Linked DNA regions of Homo sapiens: regions 2, 3, 4, 5 and 6 are each linked to region 1. The links are contacts of gene promoters, found by promoter capture Hi-C in blood cells and fetal thymus (Javierre and others, 2016). All regions are on one chromosome and are shown on one strand. The core of a region is centred on a gene start or on the middle of the fragment in contact, and the rest is flanking DNA. Distances in the headings are between cores, read along the strand shown. Region 1 holds the start of DIAPH3 (diaphanous related formin 3). Region 2 overlaps TDRD3 (tudor domain containing 3). Region 3 overlaps DIAPH3 (diaphanous related formin 3). Region 4 has its middle 48 kb from the start of LINC00434. Region 5 overlaps DIAPH3 (diaphanous related formin 3). Region 6 overlaps DIAPH3 (diaphanous related formin 3).

Region 1 (3,065 bases), core at 124-2,623:
TAATTAATCTATGCTGTTCCTCATTTTCAATTAATCTATGCTGTTTCTCATTTTCAGTATTCTGATATATCTCATGTATCAGAATATGGGCTCTCAGTCTTATTCAACTATTATTTTTAACTAAATGTTATAGTTAGCAACTGGTTCACAAACCATTATTCCCTTAATTTGTGAATCATGACTTAAATTTCTCACAATTTTTACTTGCCCACATAAGGCAAATGCTGTACTCTCTCTCTCTCTCTCTCTCTCTCTCACACACACACACACACACACACACACACACACACAGTTTTTCCATATTCCTAAGGAAAATGGTGGAGTGGTCAATGTGAAATTTCAATTCTGTTGGACTCATCCCAAATCTATCAACCCTCTATGTGATTTATTTACACACACAAACCCCAAAATAATCATCACTGCCTATACTTTCACTAGTTGACACCAACGAAAAGACAAGGTGTTAATCATGACACTTTCCTTAAGTGTTAAACACAAGCAAACCAGAATAGCAAGTTTCAAATATTTAGAATTCTTTCCAAGCTAAGCAAAACATTCTTTAGCAGTGACCACACCACCCGCCAAGTTCTAAAACTAGCTGTTTCAACTTGGAAAATTATATCTACCTTAAAAGTTCTTATATGTAATTAAAAGTTCTTATTAAAATAATAAGCAGAAAAAAAACCTGTCACCTAAAAGTTCATTTTGATATATCTTATACCCTCTTACACTAGGGAGGAAGGGAGAACTTCGACTTAAAAAATGCAATGTCCACCTAGATGACGTCAATACATATACACGTTTGAACTGCTTTTCACATCAGCGTTAAGAAATTTGGGGGCAACACAAAGATCTGGGCATTTGTCACAGGATCCAACTACAACTAGACCCGGTCGTTGTCAATCTATGATCTTTGGCACCTCTGGATCTCTAGAATAAAACTTGGTCCCCAAGTTCTTGTGGGCCCACCCTCGGCAGTCAGCCCTACGGCGGGGCGGGAGCGGCCCCACCCTAGCTCCAGGCGATACTCACAAACTTGGGGCGCTTCTCCCCAGGCTCCTCGGGGCCACTGGGCGGCGGAGGGTGTTGGGGGCCCTTCCTGCGCGGCATCTTGCTTTCCCGGCAGCCGCGGAGAGAGGCTGAGGAAGGGTAGGGAGTCCCAGCGGCTGAGCCTTGGGCCGGGTGGTGCAGCCGCGGCTGGTGCCGTTCCATCTTTCCCCGCAGCTCCGGGGACCGGAAAGAAGGTGGCCACTCAGCAAGCCGCAAGCTGGAAGCTGAGGGATCGACAACAGGTTTTACTCCCGGGGTCCGCCACCCAAACAGTCAGCACAGCCTAGCCCAACCGCTGAAGTCGGGGCCGCAGCCAACACATCTGAAAACTCCCGCCACCCGTGTTGGCCCGGGACTGGCCAATCCCGCGCCGCCGGATCAATGACACGCTGAGGCACCGCCCCTTCCGGGCACTGCGAAACATGATTGGCCTTGCGGCCTGTCTATGCAGCCGCTCAACCCTTCCGGCGGTCCAGGCCGCTCACCTTAAGGACGCAGAGTGGCGTCAGATTTGGAGAAGCGCCGGGGACCGTGGAGGAAGTCATCGGCCTGGATTTCTTTGGATTTGCAGATAGGGTTCCAGCAGAACTGGAAGGTGGGCGAGACAGGCCCTGCGCCACCATTTGAGCAGCGCTGGGATATAAAACCATCTGCTAGCCCTCTCCTTGCACGTCTGGGGCTGGAAAAAGTAGTTCTGGGACTGGGTACGGTGCTGGAAGGGGTACTAGGCAGGATGAAACGACGGGGCCCACGACGCTCCAAAAGGAAGCCTTCTGGACATATTTCCTGCCTAAGTGCTCGCTCTGGGGTGGCAGAGGGGTCCACCCAAAATCAGACAGAGCTAGGCTAGGCTGAGCCCTTCAGGAGCTCACAGTCTCCTGTAGTTTCCAAACCCTAACACAATTAACCAAGGAATGTAAATGTCTATAGCAGTTGTTTTAGAAGTTCCTTGAGAACAAAAAGGGAAGTTATTAAATCTGAAGGAGTGGATCTGGAAAGGTAAAAGGAAAGCTGCATAGGTTTTCACTAGGCAGGAAACAGTGGCAGGGCATTCATTTAAAAGGCATTCCATTCCAGGCAGGAGCAAGGCCAAGAAAGCATAGAGGTGAAGAAACTTTAAGGTCACATAACAAAGGGCCTTGAACTGAAACCATGCAAAAGAGTTTGTTGTGTAAACCCAAGGTCAAGCTACAAGGCAAACACCGTTTTCTCAACACATCAATATACCCTCTTTAAAAATGAGCTTTTCCTTGGAACTATTCCTTTAAGATATCTGTCTTCTGATTATATGGAGGTGGTGTAGGCCAAGACTCGGAAACATGCAGTATTGATTTTGGTACAAGAAACAACTCTAGGTACTCTGAGGAGTTTGGCACAGAGGTTCAAAAAATGAGCCTTAGTTCTCAGTAAGTCTTCACACTACAGCTTTTCTTTTTTAATATTTGTTTTACTGTGCCAGACTCTACAGCTCTGTCCTCAAAGAGCACATAATCTTTAGGGAAACTTACAGGAGAACAGCAAGGTCAGGAGAACTACAAGTAGTTCCTTATATCTTGATGACAGACCCAGATACAGATTTTATTCCTGCCATTTACTAGCTATTTGATACCGGAGATGACGTTTAACTTTCTTTGCTGCTTCATCTACAAAAGGGGGGTAATTATACTAATACCTATGAAAGAGGGGCATTTTCAGGCCTAAATAACATAGCATATGTAAAGCCCTTAGAGTTTTGTCAATGCTCCTACAGGAATACTGTAGTTGAAGAAGTTGGGATTATTACTCAGGGAGGGAGAACATGCACTATGGGGAGCCATGAAGTGTCTTAGGTAAATGGTATTAGAAAGCACTTAAAGGATTTGGGCTTTGATTAGGTGATTTGGGAAAGACTCCGTGGAAAGAGGTGGGAAGGGTTGCTCAAGATTAAGTGCCTTCAGGAAGTGGAGACAGTTCAGTGATTATCTTATCTAGGAGGATGGCAGGCTAAAAGACAAGCCTAAAGCTGTAACTGACAA
Region 2 (2,951 bases), core at 276-2,775, 250 kb after region 1:
AAATATGATTATAGATCTCTACATATCTAAGATGCGTACTTTAAAAGTTGAAATACAGGCTCATGTTTGACTGAATGTTTTTGTTATTTTCAACTTGCTTTTTGCTGTTACGGCCTGCCTGGTATTCCCTGCAGTATCCCTGTACTCCCAATTTTTTTTTTTTTTGCCTAAGTACCCAATATATATGAACTAATAGGTCAACAGGAAGTTAGCATGTGAAAATGCTGCCAAGGAATGGGCCCAAAAGCTTGAATCACTTTGTGTTTGAAACTGAGATGTGTAAATTAAATGATTTTGAATAAACATTTATATTAGAATTAGTTAATTATAATTAATTAGAATTTCATCACAAAACTGAATTATTGTGAGAGATTACTGAGGAAAAAAATAGTTACAAAAACACTGCCATGTACCTTTTATATTCAGTTAGATATATATCTGCTTGAGAAGCTGTATGGCTGGTGTTTACGAGCATGGGCTCTTGAAGACCAATTCTCCTGAGCTGAGATCAGTCCTGGTTCTGCCACAGATTAGCTATAACCTTGGGCACATTTCTTAACTGCTCATGTCTCAGTTTGCTTATCTATAAAATGGTGTCAATATTATACCTACTTCATAGTATTGTTAGGAGGATTAATAAGTTAATACACACAAAGTGCTTAGAATACTGCTTGGCATATGCTGAATGCCCAGTAAATACTTAATGTTCTTGCTGTTGTATGTCAAGACTGGACTCACTTAAATTAGTGTTGTCAGTTAAATACATTCATGTTACTTGCACACATGAATTTCTGATCTTGTGTCACCTTTGGAAAAAGTTGATGCCCTTTACTCTATTTTAGATTACCTTATATAGCCTGTGAGAGTGTTACTTCAATAAAGATAAAATCTTTATATCTTATGGATTTTTAATCTCAAATATATATATCATACCATTAGCATTTTATAATCTTATAAATATTAGTGTCTCAAATTAAAGATAAAAGGTACAGGTAGAATATTTCACATAATATTACATTATTTCACTTGTACAGGAAGAATAGAAATTTGAGAGAGGAAACTGTCAATATTCAGTCTCTTAATATGGACATGAACTTAAGTCTCAGCTGAAGGGAGGTATTTTCATATTCTTGTTGAAATGTTGCATTGTTATTAAGTATTTGCCTTATATTTTTATAAATAAGGATTTCACTTAAAGAATAATGTGTTGCCCTCCTCAAAAATTAAATGTGTGGAACCAGTTGTGCAATATGTAAATTTGTGAGACAATGTACGTTTTTTTTTAAGTCCAGATACATTTTTTTTGAGAGAAGGACATGTCTATTACATCTAGTTTTTGAAGAAAGAAAGATTATATAGCTTTATCCTAAGGAGTTGGCAGACTATGACCAGTGGGCCAAATCTGGCCTGCTACCAGTTTTTGTAAATAACATTTTAGTAGAACACAGCCAGAACCACTCATACACCTACTGTCTGTAGCTGCTTTTGTGCTACAGGAGCAAAGAGTAGTTGTGACAGAAATCAAATATTGTAGGAAAGCCTGCAATATTTACTATCTGGTTCTTTACAGGAAAAGTTAGCCAATCTCTGCCCTAAGTAATTAGTAAAATAGATATATTAATTCTTTATTACTTAGAAAAAACTGAAGTTGGAACAAGTAGTATATGCTATTGGTACCAGAATTTGTCAAAAATAACTTGCCAAGAAAACCACAATCCTTGTTCTTATCCTTATTTGTAGTGACTAGTATGAATAGGGCTGCCTCATAAATTAGTAAATCCTAACTATTTGATAGGAATGTGTCAGTACTTGCAGTGGGGGCTTTTTGTCAAATACAGAGTTATCAGGTGTTTTGAAATGGTCTACTAATTTTAATAGAACTTTCCATTATATCCTAGGGCAGATAGAAATCCTTCATTGGTTTCAATTGAGCATTCCTATCACACTTGGACAACTTTTGGATTCTGTAGAATACCTAGACAACAGACAGTGGTTTTTTTTTTCTGTTTTTGTTTTTAAAAAATAAAATCAGTACTGCTTAAACAGAGGGAAAAGGGTGAATATGAGGTTGAAAAACCTGTTAAAACACATCAGTCTTGAGTAAAATATAGGAGGAGTTTGTTCTTAGATATCAAAATATATTTGGTAGCCAATCATATTTAAATTAAACTGATTGGTCATCAGCATACTGATTATTTTATATAAGAAATTGAACTTATGAAAAAAAAATTCATGTGTTGATTTGACCAAGATTGATGTTTTATAACAGTGTTTAGGGAACTAGGCATGAAGGGCCTAATGAGATCCTGTTTTACAATATTCATTGCCATTCTCATTCATATTTTTCCTTTTTAGATTTGTGTTCTGAAACTTTGAGAATTACCAATTCCACTCTGTGGACATTCATATCAACCGGGATCCAGTGCACAATTTTCATTTTTGATGTTATTCTGATTATATTATTATTTTATTATCAGATTATATTATTCTGATTACATTACTATTTCATCAGAATCTTTACGCTTCAGCCAACCACTTGGGTGTATCAGGACTATAATTAACATATTGGTAATAAGCAAACATACTCATTTAACAAATGTAAGCAATAATAGGCAAATGCCATTATTGGGAAAACTAGGCCCTCAATGTTAGCTAACTAAACAGACCAATGCAATCTTTATAACTCATTCACACACTTAAAGAATATGAGAATTTTGAAGAGTACATTAATTTTTCTGTAAAACATGATTAATATCAAATTGTAAGATGTATGCAAATAAAATTGCTTTCTTTTCTCAAATGGGCAAGCTTTGTACAGATGCCTTGATGGATCTTCCGGGAACTACCATGTCCAGAGATTTATTGAGTTTTAAATAAGAGCCATGAAAAGATCAGATTTGCCAAGTTTACAAAGATAGTTCTGGCCTTTATTTCAAGGATAGGTGAAGAGA
Region 3 (2,751 bases), core at 61-2,560, 230 kb before region 1:
TGCTAGAATAAATTACAAAACCAACTCTGAAAGTTAATGTATGACATACGAAGACATATACAAAAGAAAGTACAAGAGAGGAGAAAAGTCATGAGTGAGAACTCAGTGTACATTCCTAATTTAGAAGAACTAAATCCAAATGATAACACAGGTAATTCAGGATCTCTAGCATGGTGTCGAATGGAAAGAGTTGATAAACCAGCTTACTAGTATTTGTACACACAATGCTAAGCAACTTGAGACTAGAAGAAGTAACAATACATTATATTAACAAACAGATAAAAAGCAATGCCACATTAAATCATAGGCAGACCATCCTGGCATATTCCTGGGGAAAACAGAACACAATCATCAAAACAGCCAGAGTGATTATCCAAAACTTGATAGAAGAGAAGTGATCTGACACAAAAATGACCATTATTCCAAAATACTGAAAAAGAATTGACTGACAGCAAAATGGTCAAGCTTAAGTAGTAGAATTTTACAATAAACTTACTTCTATATTTGATGACAGCATGCCTATAATTTTGTGATCTTGTTTTGGGAGGTGGGGAGGCAGGGGAGGGGACGGGAAGCAAAAAAAGAAAGAAAATGCTTTATTGTGTGGGGAATGGAGTGTGGGTGTGCCAGGGTAGAAAAGAGGAGGAGAAGGTAGAGACAATACCTAGGTATTTGTTCAACTGAACTCAACTTTTATTATCTGGACTTTCTGATACGTAGTTATCCTGTCTCTCTCTCTCTGCTTTTACGTTCTTGTTTTTGATAGCTCAGTTGGGAATTCAAGTCACTTGCCCAGTTTCTCAGTTATTAAATCTTTATTTCTCTGTGCTCTAAGAATAATGCCCCAGTTAGCATTCCAGATCATTCTGGTCTCCAATTGGTCTAGCTAATTGGAGTTCCATTATTTGCCTGATCTGTGTTCTAGAATAAACTATTCTGTGCTAGTTTCTGTCCCCACAATCTCCTGAATTTGGAATTTTTATTAATCTGGGCTGTTAAAATTTGTAGTTCTATGTTATCTTACCTTCTGGCTGGAGCTTGTGTTGTGTACATCCTATATAGCTATTTATAACACCCGGCTTGCAGTGGCACAGGCCTGTAATCTCAGCACTTTGGGAGGCCAAGGCTGGAGTATTGCTTGAGGCCAGGATTTCAAGACCAGCCTGGGCAACAAAATGAGTACTCATCTCCACAAAAAACGTAAAAATTAGCTGGGCATAGTGGTATGTACCTGTAGTGCTAGCTACTCAGGAGGATGAAGTGGGAGGATCACTTGTGCCCAGGAGTTTGAGGCTGCAGTGAGCTAAGATCATGCCACTGCATTCTAGCCTGGGCAACAGAGGCAGACCTTGTTTGGAAAAAAAAAAAAAATTAATAAAATGCCCAGCTCACATACAGACCTCTTTTCCACTGTACCATCTAACTGCAACCCAAATGTTCCATATACACTTCCCTAGTAGTATAAGGAGGTGAGGTTAAAGGAAGACTAGCAGGATTCATTTTATATTGTGATTAGAAAATGATATTTTTAAAAATAATCTTCCTGAGAGAGTAGAGAATGGGGAGTTAGTGTTTAATGGGTACAGAGTATCAGCTGGAGAAGATAAGTTCTAAAGACGGATGGTACTGATGGATGCACAACGTTAGTGTTGCTAATGCCACAGAACTGTACAGTTAAACATGGTTAAAACGGTAAAATTTTGTTATGTATTCTTAACCACAACATTTAAAAATAGAAAAAAATTTCTTTATGAGGCTTGATTTCAAATCACTCATTTTAATTTGACCTCTTGATTTGAAAATTTATGTAGGAATCATGTAGTTAAAATTTTGCTTTGTCAAATGAAGAACAAAAATCTAAGTGGCTGTAAAATTAATCAGACCAAACTGGGATCATTTAAAATGTATACGTTCTTTCCCAAGAGGTGTTCAAAGGCAGAGTTGGTCCTTATTCACTGCACACCTCAAACTTATACATTGGTTTGACTATTTATATAATGATATAGATAATGCTGTTACAAAATAACGATTTCTCTTCTACCTCTCACCCAGATTACCTCTCCAAATTGTACAAAGAATTTCATTCTTGGGCAATTCAGTGTTTCAAGAACCTAATCGCATTTCTATTTCCTTGAATACCCAGCTCTCAGATTTCTAAGCTTATAGTAGCCCATATCAATTACTCCGTCATTAAAGGTGCATAGTGATAAAGCCAGGGCAGACTTTTACATGAAAGGAAGATCTTCATCTTTTCCTACACAGAAACTGACTCTCTTCAGCTTCTTGTTCTTTGTCGCATAAAGACAGGTGGCACATGGATAATGTATAGAATTAGATTCTGGAAAGGAAACCCAAGCCATCCTTATGCTTAAAAGCCTCAAACCATTTACCCAGGACCAGAGACCAGGGAGATGTATTTGGAATATTCAGACAAAAGCCAAGTTAACAATGAAATGGCTCTTTATCTAGGTTTGTTGTGGATCCCTGTATATACATATTGACTTATATTGACTAAGGCAAAGTCACCTTTTATTTTCTAGTTAAACAATACATATGTATATGTATCTACAGGGAGAATGAGGCGTGTGTGTGTGTGTGTGTGTGTGTGTGTGTGTGTGTATCACTAAGGAATCCCACAGGAAAAATGGAGAGCTAAGCCAAGTCAGGATTCAGAAATCCCTGGATGGTTTATAATCCTTCAAGCCCCAACAAAAACTCCAAAGAATATAAAATAAGCAATACTTTCATCCC
Region 4 (3,062 bases), core at 186-2,685, 150 kb after region 1:
GGATGTATGAGTCTGGAGCTCAGGGGAAAGAGGAGAGTGCCCAAGATTACATTTGAGAGTAAGCAGTATAGTGGTGATGCTCAAAGCCATGGAGGAGGAGGAGGTTGCCTTCGGAGGGAGGGAGGTGGCTTGTAGATGAAACAAGGGAAAAGGAGGGAGTACAGGAGCCCTCCAATATTTGGGGTGGAAGAAAGAGAAGAAGGAACCAGCAAAGGGTTCTGAGGGAGTAGAAGAGAACCCCTGGAGCGGGAAGAATTTCTAGAAACAGAAAGTTATCGAGTTTGGCAAAAATTGCTAAAAGTTCAGAATGAGGACAAAAAAGTGCCCATTTTATTTGGCGACCTGGGGGTCATTAGTGACCTTGAGAGGAGCATTTCGTTGGAATGGTGGAGGCAGAAACCAGGCTGAAGTTATTGGAAGAGAGAATGGGAGTGAAGAAGTGAAAACAGTAAGTATAGAACCAGTTAGGGGACACCTTGCAGCGAAAAACAAAAGAGAAATAAGGAAAAACCTGGTAGGAAATGTGAGGCAAAGGAAGGTTGTTGTTTTAAATAGGACAAAACACAGCCTATCTGTTGTACTGATCAGATGAGCCAATAGACAGAGAGAAACAGATGATACTGGAGAGAGGAAATAATCAGATGAATGAAGTCCTTGAGAGGGGAGATGGTATTCAAGTCACAAGAAGGGGGCGGTAACAAGAGGAAGAAGTAACACAGGAGAACCTGAAAAATAGGTAGGTTTTTCTATTTGGTAGCAGGAATAAGAGAGTTCTTAATTCTATTCCATCAATCAACAGCAAGGAAAGGTCATCAGCTGGAGTGAGGAAATAAGAAAATGTGGGAAGTAAGACTTGTGAAAGAGTGATTTCAGGCTGGGCCCAGTGGTTCATAACTGTAATCCCAGCACTTTGGGAGGCCAAGGCGGGTAGATGACTTGAGGTCAGGAGTTCAAGCCAACACGGTGAAACTCCATCTCCACTAATACAAAAATTAGCTGGGTATGGTGGTGCATGCTTGTAATCCCAGCTATTTGGGAGCCTGAGGCAGGAGGATTGCTTGATCCTGGGTGCTGGAGGTTGCAATGAGCTGAGATCGTGCCACTACACTCTAGCCTGGGCTACAGGTTGAGACTCTGTTCTAAAAAAAAAAAAAAAAAAAAAAAAAGCAATTTCAGAGAGTGGGAAAGCAAAACAAACCCACTAGAAATGAATGAGCAGGATAGTTGGGCACTGTTGGATGTTCATTTGGGGTTTATGATCATGAATTTTGATGCAACCAGTCACCCCATGGGTCCTATGTATCATTTTCCTAGCAAAGGTTAGCAACTTTGGTACAGATATGTGTTCAAAGAGGTTGGAGTTTTGACAGGTGAATATGATGTAAGAGAAGAGGGGAAAGTTCATTGAGGATGGTTGCATGGAAGTGCTGGACCAGGAACTCTAGACTGGGAAGCAAAGACATGAAAACAGAAGAGAAATGATGAATAGTCGGAAATGGTCAGTTAAATAAGCTAGGTACACGTGTTAGGCCATTCTTGCATTGCTATAAAGAAATACCTGAGGCGGGGTAATTTATAAAGAAAAGGGGTTTAATTTGATTCACAGTTCTGCAGGTTGTACAGGAAGCATGGTGCCAGCACCTGCTCCTGATGAGGCCTCAGGAAGTTTTCAATCATGGCAGAAGGTGAAGGGGGAGCAGATGTATCACATGGTGGGAAAGGGAGCGGGAGAGAGGCAAGAAGTGCCATGCTCTTTTAAACAATCACCACATGAACTCAGAGCAAGAACACACTCATTACCGTGAGAACAGCACCAAACCGTTCATGAAGGATCTTCCCCCAGAATCTAAACACCTCTTACCCATGCCCCACCCCCGACATTGGGGTTGCAGTTCAACATGATATTTGGAGGGACAAACATCCAAACTATATCAGCACAGAAAGATAAATATTGTAAATTCTCATCTCACTCATATACAGGAGCTAAAAAAGTGGATCTCATGAAGGTAGAGAGTAGAATGATGGTTACCAGAGGCTGGGAAGGGAAGGGTTGGGAGGGTGAAGAAAAGCTACTTAAGGAGTACAACAATACAATTGGATAGAAGAAATAAGTTCCAGTGTTTAATAGTACAGTAGGAGACTGGGCGCAGTGACTCACACTGTAATCCCAGCACTTTGTGAGGCCGAGGTAGGTGGATCACCTGAAGTCAGGAGTTTGAGACCAGCCTGGCCAACTTGGTGGAACCCCATCTCTACTTAAATACAAAAATTAACTGGATGTGGTGATGTGCGCCTGTAATCCCAGCTACTCAGGAGGCTGAGGCAGGAGAATTGCTTGAACCTGGGAGGTGGAAGTTGCAGTGAGCCAAGATTGCGCCACTGCACTCTAGCCTGGGTGATAGAGTGAGACTCCATCTCAAAAAAAAAAAAAAAAAAGGAAAAGAAAGGAATGATAGTATAGTACGAAAATTAAAGTTAAACATAACTTGTTGTGTATGTCAAAACAGCTAGAAGAAAAGATTTGTAATGTTTCCAGCACAGGTAAAAGATACATCTTTGAGGTGATGGATATCCCAGTACCCTGATTTGATCATTGCACATTGTATACAGAAATCTGAATATCACATGTACCCCCAAAATATGTACAATAATTATACATCAATAAAAATAAATAAGTAAAAGAAATGTAATTTAGAACTCTAAAAGAATTCTAAGGAATTATTCAGAATTATTATTTCAGAATGTTTTTGAAAGACTTTGAAACACAAACACTTTTTGTTTTTGAAAGACTTAGAAACACAAACACTTTTATATAAGTCTCAATTATATTATCTAATTCAGGGTGAACACAGAGTGACTGCTTTTCTTAGGAAATCAAGCCTCCTCTCACCTTTCTTTAAAAAAGAAAGTGGTCACTTAAACATGTCAAGGGGGCCAAAGAGTTATTACAGTGTCTATAGAGGAACAAGGGGGCTGGAAAGATAGGCGTTTGTATTTAAAAGGCAGCTTATTAGCCCGGCATGGTGTCTCAAGCCTATAATCCCAGCGCTTTGGAAGGCTGA
Region 5 (2,896 bases), core at 191-2,690, 240 kb before region 1:
ACTTTTCAAATGCATGAAAACTAAACAACATGCTTCTAAATAACCAATGGGTCAATGAAGAAATTAAAAGTCTTCAATATAAAAATGTATTTAGAAAATTGAAAAGGGAAACACAACATACCAAAATATATGGGATATAGCAAAAGCAGATCTAAGTGAGAAGTTTACAGAAATAAATGTCTACACTAAAAAAAAAAAAATCTCAAACAACCTAACATTGCACCTGGAGGAATTAGAAAAACAAGACAAACTCAACCCAAAATTAGTAGAAGCAAGAAAATATTAAAGATCCAAGCAGAAATAAATGAAATGGAGACCAGAAAATACCAAAAAAAAAAAAGAAAGAAAAAACAACCAAAAATTTCATTTTTGGAAAAAATAAAATAATCAAATGTTTATTTAGACTAAGAAAACTCAAATAAATATAGTCATAAATGAAAAGATATTACAACTGACACCACAAAAATAAAAAAAGAATTATATGAGACTATTTTGAATAATTTCTTATACATCAATAAATTGGATAACCTAGAAAAAAAATGGATAAAATCCTAGAAACTTATAACTTACCAAGATTGAATTATAAAACAATACAATACCTGAATAAACCAATAACCAGTAAGGAAACTGAAATTAGTAATAAGTAGTTTCCCACCAAAGAAAAGCTGAGGATCTAATACATTTGCTGCTTAATTCTATCAAACATGTAAGTAAAAACTATTACCAATTCTTATCACACTATTCAAAAAAAATCAAAGAGTAGAGAATACTGCCAAACTCACTCCACAAGGCTGGCATTCCCCTGAAACCAAAACCTGCAAGAATGCAACAAAGGAAAGCTACTTGTCAATAACCCTGAAGCAAAAATTCTCAACAAAATGAATTCAATACATGAAAAAGATCATTCACCATGATTAAATGGGATTCATTCCAGAGATGCAAGGATGGTTCAAAACATGCAAATCAGTAAATGTGACACACCCTATTAACAGCATGGAAGACAAAACCATATAATCATTTCAATAGATAGAAAAATAATTTGACAGAATTCATCATTCTTTTATGATAAAGAATTTTAACAAATTAGGTATAGAAGAAATGTGTCACAACACAATAAATATATGCGTTATATATGACAAACATACAGCTATCATCATAACAAACAGAAAAGTTGAAAGCTTTTCCTATAAAATCTGGAAGAAGATAAGGATCTCCACTTTCACCACTTCTATTCAACATATTACTTGAAGTCCTAGCCAGGGCAATTAGGTAAGAGAAAAAAAATAGGCAGAAATAAGTTAAGCTGTACTTGCTTGCAGAAAACAACCTTAAATATAAAAAATCATAAACAAATGAAACTTATAAAACTCCTAAGCCTTCTCTTGATCCTAGTGTCTGGAAACCTTTATGAACTCAAAAATATAGGAAACCAAAACCACTTTTAAATAGACAAGTAGATAAATGAATGACTTTTAGATTCTTTCTCCAAAGTTCTAATCTAGTACATACCCATAATATTCTCTTCAATGAACTTTAGAAATGAACCTTTCCATTTTAGTATCAGTATTCTACTACTGACCACTGTTTTATTTCAATTTATCTCATTCCAAAACAGTTCTAAGACTCATCTCAGAATTCAGACTCTCAAAACTCTAAATTTCATGACAAAAAACTATAATTACAATGAAGATCATAGGCTGCTAAAGCTTCTTAAAGCTTAAATCATAATGCCTGCTACCATCAGAGAGGAGAAGAATAATCTTAAAATGGATTACATCATAATATGACATGGTATAAATTCTGTATCTTTTCATCTTACACTTTAAAACATGTTTCTCAATTAAATGAATAGGATATATATACTCTAGCTAAATTAAACAAGGCAAACAGGATCTTTCTCCATAAAAATGTTATTCTGTTTTCTGTAAAAAGGAACAGATATACATTAAACTATATAAACATTAAAATATTTTCAAAATGAGCAATCTTATTGAAATCACTTAACTGCTACACCCACCAGATTCCCTACCTATACTGTTAATGCTAATACCCACCTGGTGGGGTTGTAGTGAAGATTAAAGGGCCAAATACAGAACTAGTAAACAAAGGTAATCAGTATTTATTAGCTGTTTTAATTAAATTTGAAATCCCATGTAGAACATGTTCTGTAATACATAAATAAATAACCGTGTTCAAAAAGTTATTTAACTATGAGATGGACATTTAGGCTAACTTACCACAGCTGACCCATTCAGAAAGAATTCTATTAAACATTATATTTCTTCGGGAACTATTACAAGACTATTTAGAATCAACACTAGTAATTTGTAATGCAGGTCATGAACATTTTTCAAAATAAAATCATCTCTTTTAGATCACAGATACGGAACTTTCTGACATTATCTGACATAGTTCAAAACACAGTGCTTTGAACCTAGACAAAGTTCTTTTGGGAGGGAAATTCCCTAAAATATGTACATCATGCAAAAAACAAAAAACACAAAATCTCTGTGGTCTAAGCAAACACACACAAATTATTTCTCATGAAGACCATATGTTCATCACACCAGTTTCTGTTAATTATTAATTATGATCCCTATATCAGGATGATGGACACCACTCTGAATGCCATTCTGGGTGCCAGGGGGAGCTTCTTCAACCACCAATGAAATGCTTCCACCCCAAAAAGTGACATTAACTCCACTCCCATCTTCACTGGTCCAAGCATGTCACTTGGTGACTCCTAACTTGACAGGGGCAGAGATGTGCAATCAGCAGTGCCCAGAAATAGAGAATTGAATACTAGACAATACACCAATGCCGCCATACTATCCATGGGGATCTTGGCAGGCCTGCATTGTAGAAAAGAGATGGGTTTAGATCAAAGTGATTACGA
Region 6 (2,988 bases), core at 47-2,546, 190 kb before region 1:
TCATAAGAAATAAACCAGAATCCAAAGAAAGAATTTGCCAGTTGTTCAAACATGAATATGGTGGCCAATATTAAGTATCTAATTCTAGGTTTTCTTCTCATAGCCATAAACATGGGTCATCACTGTATACAATTTAAAACAATTTAGGAGATTCCTTGATTTAATTTCACTTTCAAAACATACACTTATTCCCATTTTATGTAAAAGCACTATGCAGCAATAACTTATTCAAAAATGGTGGATACGTTTTTTATAAACTGGAATTTTCTGGAGATTTACAAACAAACCTTCAACTGAACATAATTAAAAAGAAAAGAAAGTTCTTAAATTTACGTTACCCCAGACCAAGAAAAACTTGTTATAAATATTTCAGCCACTGTCTGTAACTCAGTCTGAAGTACAGACACAATCAAATGTTTCTTTCAATATGAGAGACAAGGAACCATATGGGAAAGATAAAAAAAAAAATTCAATAAAATGTGATACTTCCCTCTTGCAGCACTAAAGAAAGAAGATGAATGAGAATAATTTTCTTGTAGATAGGAGATTTTAATTTTTTTCTAAAATTGAATACTAACAGATAGCTATCTCTTAAGGTATCTCCAGACAGCCTCAGCAACAAAACTATCCACTAAGCATTTAAAAGAAAACAAAATTGCCAGTAAGATAGGATATAGTATACCTGAGACTATTTCAACATAACTGTAAATTAAGATGAAAGGAAAATAGCAAAACTATACTTATTGCTCATCATCCTGTACGTAAATCTACATGAAGAAATTTAGCTATGAATATTCTACCTCCTTACTTACATCCACATAAAGCATGCAGATGACGTATTTCTTGCTATCTAAATGTTTTATGTGTAGAGGGTGCATGGGAGCTATCTGCTTCATAATCCAGATTTACTCTCTTTTTTGTCATGTTTTAAATCTGTTTACTTTGGAAATTGAAAAATTATCAGAAAATGTTCTCATTCAGCTAGAGGTTATCTTTTACTGCAAGGGACCCCTAGGCTGAAGGTTTTAAAAAATAAATAGCTTGAGCAATAATTTCTTGTAGTGGGATAAAGATCAGTGATGAATAACAAATCTGAGAGTAAAAGATTTTCTTACTCTTTATGCTGAATTACTTAGGAAACATGTGACATTAGGAACAAAACCCTAACAAAACATAAGAAAGCAGATTAATTAGTAAAAGCTTAGATATACATACATATAGAAAAAAATGACAAAAAAATAGCAAAACACAGTACAAATAATGCTATAAAAATATACAAGCAAAATTAAAGTTTAAACATTTTGATGCTATGAAGATATAACATAACCTTTGCTCCCTCACTGTGTTTTTAATACCCAAATTCACTCAGAGTGGAATTTTACCTGAGACTTAAAAGCTTGTAGCTCTGCTTGAAGCTCATTAATCTTTGCCTCTTTTTTCTGCAATTCAGCCTGAGTTTCTTGGTGGTCGGTAAACTCTTTTTCAAACTGAAACAAATTAAAAATAATAACAAAAACAGGAAGATGAAAATGAAAAGCACTATTCTTCTTATAGAAATGTGACTCGAATGATCTGCCGGTAGAACACAAATTCCTGAATTGGTTTTATGAAAGGAGTGATAGAGTTTTGAAAAGTCACTTACAGTCTTTCTCTAGGCCCCTCCAGGTCCCAACCAAAATCGTTCATTCACAAGGGGGCAGAAAAAAGCCATAGACAAGTCTGTGACCTTCTCTCTGCAGAGCAAACTGGCCACAGTTATCTGCAGCATTGGCATTTTTCTTCAAAGTCTCTAAATATTATTGTGACTTTGTGTAAAATAATAGAGAGCAAAGCATTGTACAAATTCCTTGCATCTTCCACCTGCAAAAACTTATTCTTGAAACTTATCTGAAGTATATCAACATGATTTAGAGGATTTCATTTTAATATTTTTTATTACTAAACAACTCCATTCTATTCAGTTTCTAACTTTTTTTCTTGTAACAACATAATATCTCCTGATATCTTTGGGAAAGTAATGATAAATTAATTTTTCAAAGTCCCTAGTGAAATACCTTCTGGAAAAAAAAGGAAACAATAAAATTTGGTGAATCCAGTGAATTTTCTATAATAATTTATATATCCACTCATCACCAGTTCTCATCTTGCATTCAAACACATTCAACTTTGCCATTATTATGACTAAAAACCTCCTTTTTGCTCACAAACACAAGCATTTGACTTTCTTAAGAAAAATGAAAAAAAAAATCAATCAAAAAAATGCAACTATCTCACAAATGTGGCCTCCACATTTTAAATACACTCAAACCTTAATTAGGAAAATAACAACAATGTAGAACTCCACCGTTTACAAAGGGATTTTATTTTTACTTAGTTTATAAAGGGAATCTTACTTTGTCCTTAATAACACTAAGAGGCAGTTGCTAGTCCCTCATAGCTAGTAAAAGATGTGAGATTAAAAAGCCAGATTCCCCGCCTTCAGAGTCTAAGTTCAAATGAAACTATGCCACCTCCCTGCAATTAACGTTTAGATAATGCTTTACGGTTTTACTTAACAGACTATTTTTTGGAGCAGTTTTAGGTTCACGGCAAAACTGAGCAGAAAATAGAGATTTTCCACATACCCCCAACCCTACACATGCATTCTCTCTCCCCATACTTTATAGCTTTTGAAGCATAAAAAGAAGCATTCTTAAATTTCATTACAAAAACTCTGTGAAATAAGAAATACTGCTTTAATTCCCATTTTACAGGGAAGGAAGGTAAATTTCAGACTACTGATTCTCTCAGTCTCAACCTGTGTTCCTTTATTAAAATAACAAAAACTAATAGGTAAAAACTGTCCAAATGTCCTTCAGTTGACGTAAGCCACAGCAACACTACCATTCCCCACAACTACTACGGCTCCTACAAACCCCTCTTACCGTTAAATAATTAAAAAGATTCTAAGCCTATATCTAATCAAATTACTAACTACAAAACAAGCCA

What was found. Contacts are between HindIII fragments. The CHiCAGO score rates a contact against its expected background, and 5 or more counts as called.
Region 2: a fragment that was not itself captured here is called in contact with the fragment with the promoter of DIAPH3 in region 1 in 7 of 17 cell types (non-activated CD4 T cells, monocytes, naive CD4 T cells and 4 more); the score reaches 7.5 in non-activated CD4 T cells.
Region 3: a fragment that was not itself captured here is called in contact with the fragment with the promoter of DIAPH3 in region 1 in 1 of 17 cell types (M0 macrophages); the score reaches 5.3 in M0 macrophages.
Region 4: a fragment that was not itself captured here is called in contact with the fragment with the promoter of DIAPH3 in region 1 in 1 of 17 cell types (erythroblasts); the score reaches 5.3 in erythroblasts.
Region 5: a contact is called between a fragment that was not itself captured here and the fragment with the promoter of DIAPH3 in region 1, in 1 of 17 cell types (M0 macrophages). The highest score is 5.1, in M0 macrophages.
Region 6: a fragment that was not itself captured here is called in contact with the fragment with the promoter of DIAPH3 in region 1 in 1 of 17 cell types (M0 macrophages); the score reaches 6.6 in M0 macrophages.

Annotation. Positions count from the first base shown.
Region 1 is chr13:60,162,555-60,165,619 of GRCh38, forward strand. DIAPH3 (diaphanous related formin 3) reads right to left here and starts at 1,374. Exons shown (of 28, transcript NM_001042517.2): 1 at 1,033-1,374. The coding sequence starts at 1,212. It overlaps LOC105370227 (a long non-coding RNA gene), which reads left to right and starts at 1,503. Exons shown (of 2, transcript XR_942001.2): 1 at 1,503-1,645. RefSeq lists enhancers at 1,763-1,812, 2,901-3,065. The HindIII fragment of the contact is 7,568 bases long and covers 1-3,065 here.
Region 2 is chr13:60,412,894-60,415,844 of GRCh38, forward strand. The region is part of intron 1 of TDRD3 (tudor domain containing 3); the gene reads left to right. Among named protein-coding and RNA genes, the nearest start is that of TDRD3, 17 kb to the left of the region's middle. The HindIII fragment of the contact is 2,561 bases long and covers 246-2,806 here.
Region 3 is chr13:59,937,253-59,940,003 of GRCh38, forward strand. The region is part of intron 17 of DIAPH3 (diaphanous related formin 3); the gene reads right to left. Among named protein-coding and RNA genes, the nearest start is that of DIAPH3-AS1, 74 kb to the right of the region's middle. The HindIII fragment of the contact is 1,694 bases long and covers 464-2,157 here.
Region 4 is chr13:60,314,098-60,317,159 of GRCh38, forward strand. No RefSeq gene overlaps it. Among named protein-coding and RNA genes, the nearest start is that of LINC00434, 48 kb to the left of the region's middle. The HindIII fragment of the contact is 5,772 bases long and covers 1-3,062 here.
Region 5 is chr13:59,920,947-59,923,842 of GRCh38, forward strand. The region is part of intron 18 of DIAPH3 (diaphanous related formin 3); the gene reads right to left. Among named protein-coding and RNA genes, the nearest start is that of DIAPH3-AS1, 90 kb to the right of the region's middle. The HindIII fragment of the contact is 528 bases long and covers 1,177-1,704 here.
Region 6 is chr13:59,972,970-59,975,957 of GRCh38, forward strand. It overlaps DIAPH3 (diaphanous related formin 3), which reads right to left. Exons shown (of 28, transcript NM_001042517.2): 15 at 1,383-1,487. Among named protein-coding and RNA genes, the nearest start is that of DIAPH3-AS1, 38 kb to the right of the region's middle. The HindIII fragment of the contact is 196 bases long and covers 1,199-1,394 here.